Regions from separate parts of the Homo sapiens genome. Here region 2 is linked to region 1. The links are contacts of gene promoters, found by promoter capture Hi-C in human tissues and cell types (Jung and others, 2019). All regions are on one chromosome and are shown on one strand. Each heading gives the region's core, a stretch centred on a gene start or on the middle of the fragment in contact. The rest is flanking DNA. Distances are from core to core; before and after follow the strand shown.

What was found. Contacts are between HindIII fragments. The study calls those that stand out against the background at their distance.
Region 2: a fragment that was not itself captured here is called in contact with the fragment with the promoter of EYA2 in region 1 in 6 of the 25 tissues and cell types used here (IMR-90 fibroblasts, lymphoblastoid cells, neural progenitor cells and 3 more).

Annotation. Positions count from the first base shown.
Region 1 is chr20:46,891,985-46,897,450 of GRCh38, reverse strand. It overlaps EYA2 (EYA transcriptional coactivator and phosphatase 2), which reads right to left and starts at 2,608. Exons shown (of 16, transcript NM_005244.5): 1 at 2,464-2,608. The HindIII fragment of the contact is 22,949 bases long and covers 1-5,466 here.
Region 2 is chr20:46,828,243-46,833,708 of GRCh38, reverse strand. No RefSeq gene overlaps it. Among named protein-coding and RNA genes, the nearest start is that of EYA2, 64 kb to the left of the region's middle. The HindIII fragment of the contact is 8,791 bases long and covers 1-5,466 here.

The sequences.
Region 1 (5,466 bases), core at 1,359-3,858:
GAAAAAATAAGGAAACGGTTTCTTCTTTGTGGGAAAGGAGTCATCTTGTCACGGAGGATCCAACAACGTCTTAAAGTGGACGTGCTTGGACTGTGTATATTTTTTCACAAACGGCTGGGGTCTCCATAGCTTGCTCACCCTAATTCAAAATGTACTTAGCTACACCACAGAGCCTTTTTGCTGAGGGCTTTTCCATTCTCCCAACAGCAGCTAGCATTTTATCAATTTATCCATCTGGAACAAGGTTTGCAATCTCTTACACGCAATTTAAAGCAGAAGTAATACCACATATTTGAAACAGCGTGTCTTGGGCGTTTTTGCCAAATGGTAATCCTATAACAAGTCAACAAATCATACCTCTTTATGATGTGTTTAATGCAAAACAAAAGACATGAAAAGAAGATTCTAAAACTTACGTGATGAAAACTTTTTAAAAAAATCCTAAAGTATTGAGATACACATCTTTTTATTTTATTTTATATTTCCTTTAGTTTTTCTGATATTGGGGAAGTGATTTGTGTGTTTATAGAGTATTCTCATACACATGGTCACAACACCAGGTGAGCTATTTTAAGACAGAAAAGAAAAATGCCAATTCCTTTCAGATAAAATAGTGAATGATATTGTGAAGCTGAAGTTACAAGAGAATGGGGACATATAAACTGCTTTAAAGTAAAAAAAAGTTCAGGCTCTTTTGCATCTAACCACATTGGTCTTTTCACAATGGCAAAAGTTAAGAGTTTGCTACGAAGGCAAGGAGATTTTTTTTAATACAAACACAATTTAATGCTTAGTCAAAAGCAAGATTCAAACCACTATCATTTGTTATTTGTTATATAAATTATAGAAGAACTTACCCAAGTGTGAGAGTGTCTAAATGCAAAGATATGTAAAGGATGAAGGGGCTTAAGGTGATGAAGAAAGACAAGTGGAAAAAATGAACATTTATTTATCGAGTAAAATTGTGAAAGATTCTTTCACAAAGATTATTTTGAAAAAGAGGTTCTCTCCTCCCACTCTTTCTTTGTGTACCTCTTTTTTTTTTTGTAAGCAGGATGGTTACATGTGTATGTTAGTTGCTAACAAATGGGTCATAGTCTGGTAAGGTGCTTACTAGTTCTGTATCTATTATGGTCACAGACATTTCACTCAATCAAGAAACGGCTCATGAAATTAATAGATTCGGTTTGAAATACAATTGTCCACTGGTTATAATTTCCTTTGTAAGGGATCTCCCTAACTCAAACATAATTCAGTGCTCAAATTCTTACATGATGTTTGTAAATCATCCTCCTGCCCCTCCGCCCTCGCTAACAGCTAGATTCCAATGTTCAGCTCTTCCACTGCACCTCGTAATTAAAAGGTACCTCTTACCGGGGTGATTTATACCTCCACGTTATATTTTAAAAAGTAATTGAAGATTACATAGCATTTCGGGGAAGGGGAAAGAAAAGAAAAGGGTATCCATAAAAACGCAGCATCGGTCTTGCTTTTTAAAAAGAATTCAGACCGCGGCAGGGTGCACGCTGTCAACTCTCAGCCTCGGCTTCGGGGAAGCAGGAACCTCGCACTGCAAAAGGCGCTTCCAGTTCAACAGCTGAGAAAAGCGCACTGAGTCTTTTGCGATAGGAGTACGTTCACCAGTCACGCTTTCCTAGTATTCCTTGAGCTTATAAACTATTTATTGCTGGGGGGGAGGCAGGCAGGAATATATTGAAGGAGCCTGGGCCAGCACGGCCGTTTAACCTCCAGACTTCATGACTAAAAAACAATTCCATTTCCCACTTTCTCCCATTACAACGAAATCCTTGCCGCCTTCTAAACACCCTTCGGATGTAAACTTTTCTAAGTTTCAACTCTACCCGCAGCAGGCGCCAGGATTCCCTGCCCCGGTTCAAAGCCCCAGACCTGAACCAGAGCGGGCCGAGCGCAAACGGACTTTTGAAAAGAAATATATCAATAGCTAGAAGGCAAAGTCTCAGCGGGCCGTTCCAGCCCCAAGCCGGGATTCCAGCGGTTGGCTCTGCTTCTTGGTTATCCCATAAACACTACCTGAGGGCTTGAGTTTGCGGACTGGGGGAGCGCCCCTTATCGCGAACCGCCGGGACCATAATCGAACAAAACGCCAAGGACCCAGCCGCGTCTACACCGCCTGCGCGCCATGCACTTGTCCCGCGCGCGGGAGAGCAAACTTCAGGGTCGTTGCCCCAAAGCGCATGGGGAAACTGGGGCCCCGAGCCTGGGAGAGCCTTTCCAGAGGGGGGCTCTGCTGCTGTCCCCTCTGCCCTTGTGCCTTCCTGGCCCTGGGAGGCCCGTGCGCCCCAGAACGTCCCGACAGCTGCGGAGGCCCCGCTTGGCGAGTGCCAGAAAGAGGCGCAGGGCGAGGGGGTCCCGGTGAACAACTCCCCCCGCCCGGCGAATCCCGGCGGGCGGCCTGGGGTGGGCGCCGCTGGCGGTACTCACCGCGCGCAGTGGAGAGGGCGCCCCGACGCGGTGCGGGCGGGCGGGCGGGCCGGTGCGGGTCCGACGAGGCCGGGCTGACTGCGGCGGGCACGTTGCTGTCTCTGCCGTTGCCGCTGCCTCCGCCTCCTGGGCTGCCGCGGCTGCTGCCTGCGCCGGGAGGACCGGCCCCTTCTCCTCCCTGGGCCGGGCCCTCCCTCTGCCCCCGCCCGGGTCCCCGCGCCGCTGCGTGGGCGCGTGGGGGCGCCGAGGCGCGACGCTGGGCTACGCGGGCGCACACACCCGGCGGCTGGACGCAGGGCGCGGGGCTCTGGCCCAGCACGTGCCGCCGCGCCGCTTCCTGAGCCTGCAGCCGAGCAGAGCGCGCTCACTCTCGCCGGTCCTGGAGGCCAGGGCCCAGCCTCCTCCCCACCCACCGACACCCCGCACCTCCTCCCTCCCCGGGGCAGCACATCCTCCCTGCAACCCAGGCATGACCCCTGTGAAAGGAACGACGGCTCGGAGAGGACCTCAATAGTGACACTAACATTCGTTCACTCAACCACCCATTCATTCATTCAAAATATATTGAGCATCTACTGTGCCAGGTACCACTCCTGAGAGACTCAGCTAGAACAAGACAGACTAGTTTTCTGCCCTCCCGGAACTTGCATTCACATGGAGAGGCAAACCATAAACAAATAACCAAGTAAAGAAGCAAGACAGTTTCAGAAAGTTAGAGTTACAGGGAGAAAAATAATATATGTATCTGCTGTTGGGGAGTGGAGGAGAGGCGGTAATTTTAGCTAGAGCAGTCAGGGAAGACCTCTCTGAGGAGGTGACATCTGAATTATGAGGAAGTGCCATTGGTGTGGTATTTAGGTGAGAACGGTTCAGGGGTCTCCCCTATGTTTCACCCATTTTACAGCTAAGGAAACTGAGGTCTCAAGAGCTTAACTGGTTTAGTGAAAGTGAGAGGTATAGCCCCCTCCACCTACATGCCCAAATCAAGGCACCCCACTTACTCCATCCTCTCATAGCCACCCCCCTTTTAGTCTCCCTGGCAATGAACTGTGTTAATTGGAGTCTATGCAGCCTTTCCTAGCCCGTCACCCACTCTCTAATGTCTATGAATTCCACCGTGGGACACCCAGGATGCTTCAATCCAAAAGCAATATCAACCACTGTCATTTCTTAAGTGCAGTAAAAGACAGGGCACCCAGGTGAATTTGAATTTCAGAGAAACGAGGAATCAGTTGCAGTATATGTCTTATGCGATTGGTTGTACGTACTTATATTTAAAAAGTATTTCTTTTGTCTCCGAAATTCCAATGTAACCGGGGGTCCTATATTTTTATTTGCAACCTTAAGCTCATCCAATGCCCAACTCTTCCTTATCTCATGTAATCCCCAAGAGAGACCCCAAGGTAGCTGCTGTCAGCACACTCATTTCACAAATGAGCAGGTCCAAGCTCAAAGAAGGCAGAAAGTGGCTGAGCCAGGAATGAAATTCAGGCCTGGCTGACTCCAAAGCCGTTGCTCTTGAGCCGTAACAGTCTTCAATTCCAGTTGTAAGTTTACAGGAGCTGATGAAGGTTAAGTTCTTGGGCCCCTGACTTGCTTGGACCCCTTTCTAAGGGGACTTAGAAAAGTGTTCAGATGGTGGCTTGTTGATGTAAAGTTTACAAAAGTCCTTTGCTTTGGACATTTGGCTGCAGGCCGTAGACACCGCTGTCTTTCCACTCCGATTCCCCACCCCCAACTTGCCCTTGAGTAGGGTGGTGTCAGGTGGCTGCTGGCATTTTGGAGGAAAGTTGAGTTGGGAATTTTGTGATGTTTGTGGTAATTTTCAGCTTCTTAAAATTTGAATTTGTTGTGATTTCTTTTCTTAATTTAAAGAAATAATCATTTTCTTATCTAATCTTGGACTCATAATTTTGTACTCTTTTTCTTGAATAGGGGCTGCAAATTATACATGTATCAGGCCTCACCATTCCCAGACCCACCTCTGGTCATAGCTTACTCCGCTTTCTACTCCCCAAACTTCAGACAGAAGCAAATGTATTCAGTAAACATGGTTGTTCTCTTCTCTGGGCCTGCCGCAGTAGGCTTGGAGATGGCTCTGCTTCTGTCTTCTAGAGGCAGAATGTACATATGTACTTGGCCTTGATTTTCTCATCACTAAAGTGAAAATAACAGTACTCATCTTATACTATTATTGTGAAAATTCATGGAGCTCATGCTCATAAAACACTTTCTACTATGACTGCAGCTGGCACTAGCAATTGCTCAACAAATATTATTACTGTACACACAGCTTCACTTCCCATAGTATCTTTGCTAAGTGCTCCAAGTCATTATAAATTGAGCATCTTAATGACCTTCAGAGGTGTTTAATTTGTCTTGGCCTGTGAACCTTAATTTTTTTTTCCTAAAGGAATAGACTGGAATAGGAAATATCAAGTGAATTGTATGCAGTAAGAATATATATACATACCTATACATATATAGTTACATATATACATATGATCCCCTATATATAGTTAAATGTATACATATGGTCCCCAATTTATGATGGTTTCACTTAATGATTTTTTTGACTTTATGACGATGTGAAAGTGATGTGTATTCAGTAGAAACCACAATTGAGATACCCATACAACCATTCTATTTTTCACTTTCAGCAAAATATTTGATAAATTTCATGAGATATTCAAAACTGTATTATAAAATAGGCTTTGTATTAGATGATTTTGCCCAACTGCGAGGTAATGCAAGTGTTCTGAGTGCATTTAAGGTAGGTTAGGCTGAGCTATGATGTTCAGTAGGTTAGGCGTATTAAATGCATTTTGAACTTAGGATATTTTCAATTTACAATGGAGAGATATATATGTATATATGTATACGTATATCATATATACGTATACATACATACATATATATATACACACATGTATCTGTATCTATATCTATATCCATATCTATATCTATATCTTTGGTCAGGATGTGAAATGTTTCTTCCTGTGG
Region 2 (5,466 bases), core at 1,123-3,622, 64 kb after region 1:
CTCAAAATAATCTGTGGGGCCCTTCAGGGAATCCATGAGATCAAAGCTATTTTTGTTTTGATATAACAAAAGATGTGATTTGCCTTTTCAAACTCTCATCTCTCACAAGTGCGCAGTGGGGTTTTCCAGAGGCTTCATGACATGTGGTGATGTCATCCTCCTGATATTAACATGTAATGGGTTTGTTCTTGTTCTTTTCACGTGAATGAATGAATAAATAGTTTTAAAATTTCTCAGGGTAAATTCCTATTATGGTAAAAAGCAACAGACAAAAGCCACATAAACAAAAACTCTTTGAGGTCTTCTATAATTTTTAAGAGCGTCAAGCAGGTAATGAGGCCAAAGGCCTTGAGAACGCCTTCCCTAAAAATGACCTATTGCATTCATGAATGAAGAAGTAAATTGCGTTGCAAGTTCAGGGAGAGAAATAAAACTGTTGTTGAGCCATGGTTTTCGGGGAAGATTTCTCATGGTTGAGGTAGAGCTCCACCTGGGTATTGAAAATGCAGATGAGTTTGCTTGGCCATGGGAAGGAAGGTGTTCCAGGAGGGCGGCTCAACACTCGCAAAGGGCAGGCGGTGGGAGGGAATGGGGTGAGGCGAATTGGGGTAGTGAGGATCCCAGCCCGGCTTGAATGGAAGGTAAAGCTTAGAGGAGAGATTCTGGGATCTGTGTTGATGACACTCCCATCCCTCAGTGGTCTCTGAAGCCAACTTAGAGGCCCCATTGGCCAGAGAACCAAATAGTTTGGTTTGCACTCCCAGAATGCTCCCTCCCCTGCTCCTGGGAGCTGGGACCTCACCCATGGGTCCCCCATGGGGTGGGAGTCCGTAGTCAACCACAGAGCTGAGCAAAATCTAAACTGTTTCTTTTCTTTGGAAGGCCTCTAGAAACAGGAAGAAAGGCTGTTTTCTAGGATTTGCCAAGAGTTAAGTCATTCCTCACTGATACAAACAATTTCTCCAGTTACTCTTTGGGGCCCAGGAACATTCATGAACTGTGCAGGGTCTGAACTCTTCAACTCTGAACTTCAGTCCCCTGGGTCATCTGCTGGGGCTGGGGCACAGCTCTCTGGCCCTGCCTGGGTTTTAGAGACATGGCCAAGCCACAGAGTGGGCGAGACAAGGCCTCCTCCACGGAGTCCTCAGAGAAATTCTCACCCAGAGCTATGGTGGGGGGTAGGCTGAGTTCAGTCTTTCTCCTGAGTTAGCTCACTGGATGCCAGGTTTCCAGATGCACGTAGCCAGGCACTTCATAGGTGAGGTTATGCACGGGTGTAGAGGCAAAGAGAGTGCATGAAGTCAGGAAAGCAATATGTATTGAATTCGATATGATGTGCCATTCCCTGTCCTGAGCACTTTGCATGTATTATCTCACTTAATTCTCATAACCACCTGTAGAACGTAGTTAGTGGTTAACAACAGTGTCTCCGGAGCCATCTGCCTGAGTTTGTGTCCTGGTTCTGCCATGTGGCAGATCATATTTTGCAGGATGGCTGCAACAATATCTTCCATTCCATGTGCTCTTCTGCAATGGAGCCTCCTTCCGTCTAGAGTTGGGGTCTATGTCCCCTTCTTTTGAATCTGGGTGACTTGCTTGTAACCAGTGGAATGTGGCAGAAGTTAACTATGGGACTTCCAAGGCTAGGTCAGAAAAGGCAGTGCTGTTCCCTTTTGTTTGCTGGAACATTCTTGCTGGAGTTTAAGCCATCATGTAAGAAGTGCCCTGAGGCTTCCATGTTGTGAGGAAGCCCAAGCACATGGAGAGGCTGTGGCCAGATGGGGAGGCCGTGTGTAGGTGATCTGGTCAGTTGGCAGTCCCAGCTGAGTTTAGTGTTAGAGTCATCTTTTTTCAGGTGCCAGATTTGTGAGTGATTTTTAGATTCTTGCTGTTGACTCATCTCTAGCCTTCAAGTCTTCTCATGTGAGGTCCCAGACACTGCAGAGCACAGAGAAGCCATCCCCGCTATGTCCCTTCTGAATCCCCAACTCATAGTAAACTTGAGGACAATGGAATGGTTGTTTCATGTCACTAAGTTTGGTGTAGTTTTTATACAGAAATAATAACTAAAGTGTGCCACTGCTGTGTGACCTTGGGCGAGTTACTTTACCTTTCTGAGTCTGGGGTTGCTGATCAGGAAAATGAAGATGATTATGTACACTCCAGAGAGATCTGGGGACAGTTAGACTAGACAACGAAACTCAGTTCTTAGTACAGTACCGGGTGCACAGTCAAGTGTTCAATAAAGTTTTTATTGTTGTTTGTTGAAGTCTCCTTGATAAATAGATATAAGGATAGGAAAGAAATTGCATTCTATCCCATAGTTCCTTCCTTCTGCTCTGCTCCAGTGCTGGGGCCAGAGAGGGAAGGTAAATAAGTTAAATATGCCTCTTTCTTTCTTATCTCTCTCTCTCTCTTCCTCAGTCTTGCTCTGTCACCCAGGCTGGAGTGCAATGGTGTGATGGCTTACTATAACCTCCAACTCCTGGACTCAAGTGATCCTCTCACCTCTGTCTCCCTAGTAGCTGGGACCACAGGCATGCACCACCACACCCTGCTAATTTTTAAAATATTTTTTAGACATAGGGCCTCACCATGTTGGCCAGGCTGGTCTCAAACTCCTGGCCTCAGGCGATCCCTCTGCCTCAGCCTCTGAAAGTGCTGGGATTACAGGTGTGGGCTGCCATACCCGGCTATGTTAATTGTTAATATGCAGAAATGTGGCTCCAGTGTCATTAGGTCTTCGAATTTTTCAAGAGAGCCATAAGTCCATATTTTATGTGAAATTTCCAGATTCTTAAAAAAAAGTTTAGTGGTTCAAATAAGCATATCAGTGAGCCACTTTGAGGTGTCGGCTTTAGTGACAGTGTGGTTCTGGGTTACCCGCTATGTTCAGGGCCAGTGGGAGACAAGGTCCCTGTTTCCCACTAGTGCCCCTCTAAGACACTACCCATCCCTGCTGTGACATTTGCCACACTTCCGATTCTATGTGGGCCCCACTGGGCAATTCCAAACCACCTGTTTAGATCACAGTTTCTCAACCTTCTATAATCTTTTAAAATTTATTACTCTCCTAAGGAGGTTTTTTAGGCTTTTTTTTTTTTCTTAATCACCTCCCACCATGAAATCTTAATCCACAAATATTTTGTATATCTCTTTAGGTACTGAATGTATATCTGTACTTCAGACATAAAATAATGTGATTTTTTTTTACCCCAATTGTGCATACTCAGTGTGTGTGTGTGGCAGGGGCAGAGGGAGTATGGCCCCCAAGGGGTTAAAAGCTGATTCTTGGGGCCATAAAAACACACATATTCTTTTTATATATAAAACACAGATATACATTTCATAAAATGAGATAGAGTATATCTGTGGTATTAAAATTTCATGGGGGAGGAGGTGGAACTAAGGGAAAAAAAGTCTTATAAGACTTCTTAGGCTGGGCACGGTAGCTCACCCCTGTAATCCCAGCACATTGGGAGACTGAGGCAGAAGTATCACTTGAGGCCAGGAGTTTGAAACCCGCCTGGCTAACGTGGTGAGACCCTGTCTCTAATAAAAATACAAAAATTATCAGGGCATGGTGGTGCATGCCTGCAGTCCCAGCTACTCGGGAGGCTGAGGCAGGAGAATTGCTTGAACCCAGCAGGTGGAGGTTGCAGTGAGCTGAGATGGCACCACTGCACTCCAGCCTGGGCGACAGAGTGAGATTTCGTCTAAAAAAAAAAAAAGGAAGCCCCAAATATTCAAAGCATTTTATTTATGCTAAAAATAATACATTCAAGTGGTTCAAAATTCAAACAGTAGGCTCTTTTTACTCTCTATCATCCTACTCCATCCCTCAACTAAGTAACTATTCCCCCTCCCCAGAGACAATATTGTTACCAGTTTCTTGGGAATCTGTTATTTTCCTGTTGTTGCTGTAACAAACTGCCACAAATTTAGTAGCTTAAAACAACCCACATTTCTTTTTCTTTTTCTTTTTTTTTTTTTTGAGACGAGTCTTGCTCTTTTGCCCAGGCTGGACTGCAGTGGCAGCATCTCGGCTCACTGCAACCTCCACTGCCTGGGTTCAAGTGATTCTCCTGTCTCAGCCTCCCAAGTAGCTGGGATTACAGGCACCTGCCACCATGCCCAGTTAATTTTTGTATTTTTAGTAGAGACGGGGTTTCGCCATGTTGGCCAGGCTGGTCTCAAACTCCTGACCTCAGGTAATCCACCCGCCTCAGCCTCCCAAAGTGCTAGGATTACAGGCACGAGCCACCGCACCCGGACTATTATTTTTCAGTTCTGTAGGTTAGACGTCTGACTTGGGTCTCACCGACTAAAATCAAGGTGTCATCGGAGCTGTGCTCCTTTGTGGAAGCCCGGTGAAGGACCCATTTCCTTCTCTTTCCCAGTCTCTAGAGTCCACCTGTGTTCCTCCTCATAACCTGCTTCCATCTTCAAAGCCAGCCCTGGCCAACTGAGTCTTCTTCACGTTGCCTCCCTCTGACATTCTCTTCTACCTCCGTTTTCCATATATCCTTCCAGTTACCCTTGTGATTACACTGAGCCCAACCTACATAACCCAGGATAATCTCCTGATCTGCAGGTCAACTGATTACCAACCTTAATTCCATCTGCAACCTTAATTCCTCCTTGCCATAAAACCTAACATTTTCAAAGGCTCCAGGGATCAGGACACGGATATCTTTAGGGGGCTGTTAACTCTGCCTGCATCGCATCAGCAGATAATCTGTACATACAAATAAGTATTTTCATTTAAACCCTAATAAAAAGCAGTACTGTAAACTCAAATGTGGTACATACCTAATTTTAACCTACTGGAATGTATAGCCTATTAACTGCCTTGGATCATGACCATCATTTATTTTTAAGGAAATAGAATGCATAGCACATAATAAAACTAAGTATTGCTTCATGAAACTTTTGTTTCAGTCTTTTGTGGGTGAGTGCATATGTGTGAACTGTGTCATGATATAAAAAGTATTTTTTACTATGAGTCACAGTAAAAAATGTTGGGAAGTTATTATTATATAGTTTAGTGGTTATATGAGGTTTTTCTGGGGTTAGACTGTCTGGCTCCATTGCTTACTGGCTGTGTGTCCTTGAATAACTGACTTAATCTTTCTGAGCCTCAGTCTCCTTGTCTGTAAAATGGAGACAACGACCGTAGCCCACTTTCTAGGGTTTATGGGAACATTGCATGGGCTGAAATGTGCTAAGTGCTTAGCACACTGCTTGGCAGTCACAGGCATGTGTTATTATCTTTGCTTTTATTATCCTTATTATTCTTTTAAAGGCATGGAGAGGATGAGATTTTCAGTGGAGAAAGAACCAAGGTTACGTAGGGATTTTTGGACAAACAGGAAGTGTGGGCTCTGCTCAGAGAAGTGCAAATGAATTTGTAATCTGAGAGGGGCTGATCATCAACCCATCAGAATCCTCCAAATATGAGCACAG